Linked DNA regions of Homo sapiens: region 2 is linked to region 1. The links are contacts of gene promoters, found by promoter capture Hi-C in blood cells and fetal thymus (Javierre and others, 2016). All regions are on one chromosome and are shown on one strand. The core of a region is centred on a gene start or on the middle of the fragment in contact, and the rest is flanking DNA. Distances in the headings are between cores, read along the strand shown.

Region 1 (3,163 bases), core at 117-2,616:
CTCTTTCTTTCTTCCTTTCTTTCTTTTTTGGTAGAGATGGGGTCTCATTATGTTGCCCAGGTTGCTGTCAAACTTCTGGGCTCAAGCAATCCCCCTGCCTGGATCTCCCAAAGTGCTGGGATTACAGGCGTGAGCCACCATGCCCAGCCCCTCTACTGCAATTTCTAACCTTCTCCTACTCTGTGGAGGTGTCTGGCTCCCCTGCTCTGGAGAGCTTTCCACTAGTGCTCCCACCTGACAGCCTGTCCTCCTTCAGCCTTCTCCCTTCCTGAATGGATACCCGTCCCAGCCCAGCTTGCCCTGGAGCAATTTCATCCATCTATGGACTGTCATAGGGCCTAGGGGCTTTTCAAGGGACCTGAACATATCTGAGAGCAGAAAGAAAAATAATCCATTACATCAACATATAAAACTATAAAATAGAAATAAATAAGTACCAAATTGAAGGCCCACAAAAGGTAATAGCATGTCAACAACTCAACTCAGTTTTACATATCATTACACTTTATGTGGACTATAACTAAATATTAGTATTTGAGATATGATGTGGGTAGAGACTCCAAAGGAATGCTTATGGCCTAGGAAGATCCAATGCCTGTATTCCTCATCTGTGAATCCCCATCTCACCCCATGCCCCACCACCATAATAATGATCGCCACCCATCTCTAAATCCCTGGCATGGTTTAGGGTCAGGAGGAGGTGGGCCTGGGGAGAGGAAGGGATGAGAAGGAAGAAGACCTTGAGACCTTAGCCCTAAAGGCATACACCTCATAGCTTCTCACCTCAGAGCCTCGGTGATATCTTCTGGCTTGAAGTTATTAGATCCTTCTAGAGGCTTCTGTAGGTACCCATATTGTGACAGGTAGTCCTATGATGGGAGTGGAGGTAAGCAGGTTAAAAGGGGGTTAGTCTCAGAGTAAAGCTTCTAAGTGACCTAACAGATCCATCAGGAGAGGAGGGACCTGATATGGAAGCACTAATGGAGAAGCACCTTAGAGAAGGGGCTCAGGTGGAACAAGGGGAAGCAGCGGGAGATGGGCAGGGTAGACCATGGGGCAGAGAGAGCAAGGGAAAGGCAGGCAGGCTGAAGGTCAGGAGGGAGGCTTCGATGGGGCTGTGGAGCAGTAACCCCTGTCCCTCCGCTGGCCCAGGTCTCTTTCTTGGGGGACTTACCACAGGCGCCACCTCTGCAAGCCCCAGGACCCGGCCTGAGACTGTCATGGGGAGTAGGAAGCCCAGCCACAGCTGCTGGCAGTTCATGGTCCCACCAGACGAGAGCTCCAGAGGCTGTCCGTGCCTCTGACCTGAGATTTCTGGGAGCCTTGGGGGAGCAGTGCTAGGCAGAGGGGCTCTTACCCCCAGTTCTTTTTACTCTCCAGCCTCTAGTCCTCTTTATAACAGCTGAGGGGAATTTGGGGGAGAGGCAGAGGGAGGTGACTCAGCCAAGAGATATGTTGCAATTCACCATTAACCCTTGCCCTACCAGAGAGCGGAAGCCAAAGAGAGTTCCCAATCGCTTCCCTCAGAGTCCTCTGCTGGAGATGGAAAAACTTCATACTGCCCTAGGGTGAGCATCCAGGCAGGACGAGAACCAGAATCTCTGGAGAGACTAGAGATAGGGATCATGGACATCCCCTGGAATTAGACATCAATGTGCCTCAGGGACCCTGGGCCAGCAAATCACTCCGCCCCTACCTTTGAGTCTCCCTAGAATAAGCTGAGAGGTAGGAAACAGCTGAGGTAGCTTGGGTTTCAGGTGAAGGAGTCAAGCGTGAAGTCTCAGTTTCTTTGTACCCAAGACCAAGTTGGGAATATAGATGCTCCTGCAACCTACTTATGTCTGCTTTAATAAAAAGTCATTATTTCAAGAATCTAATGAGCCTGGAATATGTGGGTGTAGGTGGGACTTAACAAGGGCACAAATAAGTAAAGGGCCCAGAGCCTACCCTCAGGGAGCTTACGGATCCAGTGAGGCAGATCCAGACACCTGGGAAGAGGGGAGCCAGCGTGCCAGGCCAGAGGTGATTCACCCTAAGGGGCTTGGGGCTGGGGGGAGGTTTGCTGAGAAGTCAGGCTTTGAGATGGGCTTTGAAGGCCAGCTAAGAATTGATGGGGTAAGGCCAGGCATGGTGGCTCGCTCCTGTAATCCTAGCACTTTGAAAGGCTGAGGTGGGTGAATCACTTGAGATCAAGAGTTCGAAACCAGCCTGACCAACATGGTGAAACCTTGTTTCTACTAAAAATACAAAAATTAGCCAGGTATGGTGGCGGGCGCCTGTAATCCCAGCTACTCGGCAGGCTGAGGCAGGAGAATCACGTGAACCCAGGAGGCAGAGGTTGCAGTGAGCTGAGATCACACCATTGCACTCCAGCCTGGGCAACAGAGCAAAAACTCCATCTCAAAAAAAAAAAGAATTGATAGGGTAAAAGGATACTGAGAGACAGACAGTGCAGGTCTTGAGTAAAAGTGCAGAGCTGAGAGACTGCTGTACTCAGTAAGTCAGAAGGGTCACGACTGCTTCATTCACCACTGAAGCCCGAGTGCCTACCCCAGGCCACCTCCATGCTTTCGAGGCTGTGCTTAATAAATCACTGTCAAAGAATGACCAGGGTGGGAAAGTGGTTGGGAGACAGAATTTGGAGAGGGCCTTAAATGCTATGCAAGGAAAAGAAGAAAAACTTACATTTAAAAATACCGGACGGGAGCAGTGGCTCACGTCTGTAATCCCAGCACTTTCGGAGGCTGAGGTGGGCGGACCATGAGGTCAGGAGTTTGAGACTAGCCTGGCCAACATAGCAAAATCTTGTCTCTACTAAAAATACAAAAATTAGCCAGGCGTGATGGCATGCGCCTGTAATCCCAGCTACTCGGGAGACTGAGGCAGGAGAATTGCTTGAACTGGGGAGGCGGAGATTGCAGTGAGCTGAGATCGCGCCACTGTACTCCAGCCTGGTGACAGAATGAGACTCTGTCTCAAAATTAGTTAATTAGTTAATTAATTAAAATAAAAATACCTATTATTGGGTGATGGGTGAACCAAAATCTCACAAATCACCACTAAACACTAAAGAATTTATGTAACCAAATACCACCTGTTCCCCAAAAACCTATGGAAATAAAAAATTAAAGGAATTAAAGTCCGGGCATGGTGACTCACACTT
Region 2 (3,197 bases), core at 579-3,078, 110 kb after region 1:
GACCTGTGAGAAGAATCCCAGGCACTGCTTCACTCAGTGTCTGCTGCTTGCCAGCTGCCCTCTATCCACTCCCTTCCTCATCTTAGCTCTTGTCCAAGGACCTACCAGGCATGATAAGCTGGGTGCTGACCACTGCCAGGCTGTTGGTATCAGCCAGAGACACATTGAGGCAGTATGTCCCCGAGCCACCCTTCAGTATCTGGTGCAGAACCAGCTGGCAGGCTGGGCTGGGTAGCACAGGCTGGCACAGCCGCTGGGCAGGGGGCTGGCACCCTGGCGATGAGATCTCCATGCAGGCTTCCTTGGGCAGCCTGGAAGAAGTGTCAGCATATATAAGGGGATCTGGGAAGGGACACTAAATGCCAGAGAGCGGAGAAACAGTCAACCAAAGAGTTACCAGCACACTAGTGAGACACTCACCCGCCTTGGCAGGACACAGTCAGCTCAAATGCATCCCCCTCACCGGACGGCACAGCCTGCAGGATCTCGGCACTTTCAATACCCTCTGCAGAGTTGCAAGCTTATCAAATTAGGATTCCTCTACCTGGCCTCCCCAAAAGCCCAGAGACAGAAAAGCCCCAGGGCTGCTCCACCAATCCCATCCCTGTGCTTTCAAATGAGGACTCTGGCATTTGGGTATTCTTCCTATCTAGGTGAGTAATTCCTCCCAAGGTGTGCTTCCACTGACCAGCCCTAGGTAGCACACAGCTGCCTCCATCAGCCACCAAAGTAGGCAAGACTCACGGACAATGTCCAGGGTGACGGAAAAGGAACCATATCGATACAGAACACAATCCAGGGGGACTTGTCTCTTCACCAGCCTTAAGGTGGCTGTACCATCCAGCAGGGGGCCCAGGGAACCTGGCAGGAGAGGATCAAGGAGGCAAGATCAAGAGACAGATGACTCATCTGGAGGCAGAGGCCAAGCAGGCATTTTTTCAGGTTGAACCAGAGTTACTGGATTCTGGAGTCACAGGCTTGGAATCAGATAAGACCTGGGAAACCTTATTCTATAGATAAGGAAACTGAGGCCCAGAAGAAGAAAATGACTCCTCCAGAGTCACAGTTAGGGGTGGCATTGGAGTTTTAAAAAATCCTCAAATGTTTATCACACCCCACACTATGTCAGGTCCTAGGCTAGACATTCAACGTGTGTTAACTCATTTAAGCATCACTGTTTCATTCCTCCCTTTTTGCTTTGGGATGGGAATCCAGGGTTGGGAAATGGAAGGATCAGGATCTCGGAATCTGGGAAGGATTTTCGTGCATTTATGCTTGAACAGAAAATGAGCTATAAATATTATATAAATGATCACAGTCTGTTCCCTGGTCTCGCCAACCGTTCTCAGCAGTAGAGAAAGCAACAAGCTCTTTCCTCATGGCCTAGGGGAAGACCTTGGTTTCCTGAACTCCAGACCTATTCCATGTCATTAAGAGAGACTGGAGGGCTTTATAGCCAGGCCAGTGAGAACTCTGAGGGGACCATAGTGCTAAGCAAAGGATTGGGTAACATCTGAGTCCTGGGTAAGACTTACAGAGTAGAGTAGGGTACCCCACCTCCGTGAACCTCATTCGCACTGATACTCTTACCTGTAATACTTTCCGTAGACATGATTGAGCTGGCATCTGGACCTTCAGGCTCAGGGATAGGTAGCTCTCTAGCTGTGGTCTCCACCCACTCTGTAGTTGTTACCTGTGCAGCTGTGGTTCCAGAAAGCACCACAATTGATACCTCTGCAGGTGTCATACCTGTAGCCTCTGGAGTTGACATCTCTGCCAGTGTGGTACCCATGACCTCTGAAACTGGCACCTTCTCAGGTGTCATACCTGTGCTCTCTGCAGTTGGCATCTGCACAGGTGCAGTGCTTATGACTTCAGTGGTTGGCACCTGCACAGATGTGGTTCCAGAGGGCTCTGCAGTTGGCGCCTGACCAGGTGTAGTACCCACAACTTCTGTAGTAGGCACTTGGCCAGCTGTGGTGTTAGGGGCCTCTGCAGTTGGCCTGTGCCCATCTGTGGTGCCTGGAACTGGGGAGGAGCCACAGGAGGTGAGAGGAATGGCAGCCTGCAGGACCACCTGGGCAGTGACTGGGCCAGGCTCCAGGTAAGTATGAGTGACCACAAGTGCCCGAGAGATCAGGGTTCCACTACTGTCTCCAAAGTCCCAGGTGTAGGAGAGGTCAGCTTCAGCCAGATAGCCACTGGGGTCATGGAGCTGGAGGGCAAAGGTCAGAGGCTGATTTCTCAGGAAGTGCTTGTTCCCTCCATCCAAGGCCCGCAACTGGGACACGCTCACGGAGAAAGGCACCTGGTCTGGGATTGGAGCCAGAAAAGGTGAGAACCAGGCCTGAGCCACAGCTTCTCCTTTCACAGCCACACCCTCCAACTCCAAGCTGACTGGCTGGCCCTTCACTGGCACTAAGCCTCACATTTCTCTGCCTAGGTCTTCCTGGCCCTTCTACTTTAAGTTTGCACAGCATTTCACCTTTCTCCTTTCCAGTCCATCCAAGCCTCCCTGCCTTCTCTTGCCCTACAACTGGCCTTGCCCCTTCCTAAACCCTTACCAGTAATGGTGAAGGCTGAGCTGGAATGAGCAAGAGGCACATAGCTCCGGGATCCCCGGCGATGGTAGACAGTCACTTCCATGGTGTGTGTGCCCAGCATTGCCCTGCCTGTCCCAATGCTCAGCCCAGACACTGGGCCCCCTAGAACTTGCCAGTATTGGCCTGAAGTTTTTGGAATGAAAAGCAAGGAAGAAGAGATTACTGGTCAAAGGGGACTGAGGGACAGGCTTCGAAACGGCACTGGAGATGGGAGGTCAGGAAGTATGATTACTTCTGAGGGTGTTTGGAAGGCTGTGATATGGGGGGACAGGGAAGGGGTCCTAATGAGGCATTCCATGGGGTAGGACTACAATTGAGGAAGAGTTGCCAGAAAGAATTATGATAGAGTTGAAGGGGGCTAGGTGCTAAGAAAGAGAAAAGATCTAAGAGGAAAATGAAGATTAGAGAAAATCACAGAAGTTAAGGTGGAAGGGGCGGCCAAAAGAAAGGTGATCAGGTAGAAAGAAGTAAACACAAGTGTGGATGATAGGCTGAGAAGGGAGTCCCTCACCCCAGGTCTTCCAGACATAAACAAAGCTTCTCTTCTGAGACCAAGAGCCAGATGGGCAAGGTCCACCATCAGGGAAGATGCAG

What was found. The method cuts DNA at HindIII sites, captures the fragments that hold promoters and counts their contacts. A CHiCAGO score of 5 or more calls a contact.
Region 2: a fragment that was not itself captured here is called in contact with the fragment with the promoter of MMP19 in region 1 in 2 of 17 cell types (endothelial precursors and total CD8 T cells); the score reaches 5.4 in endothelial precursors.

Annotation. Positions count from the first base shown.
Region 1 is chr12:55,841,570-55,844,732 of GRCh38, forward strand. MMP19 (matrix metallopeptidase 19) reads right to left here and starts at 1,367. Exons shown (of 9, transcript NM_002429.6): 1 at 1,175-1,367; 2 at 784-869. The coding sequence starts at 1,261. The HindIII fragment of the contact is 3,493 bases long and covers 922-3,163 here.
Region 2 is chr12:55,955,359-55,958,555 of GRCh38, forward strand. PMEL (premelanosome protein) reads right to left here. Exons shown (of 11, transcript NM_001384361.1): 4 at 3,115-3,197; 5 at 2,565-2,726; 6 at 1,591-2,313; 7 at 745-861; 8 at 421-505; 9 at 106-311; 10 at 1-3. Among named protein-coding and RNA genes, the nearest start is that of PMEL, 9.1 kb to the right of the region's middle. RefSeq lists an enhancer at 1,547-2,048. The HindIII fragment of the contact is 2,620 bases long and covers 519-3,138 here.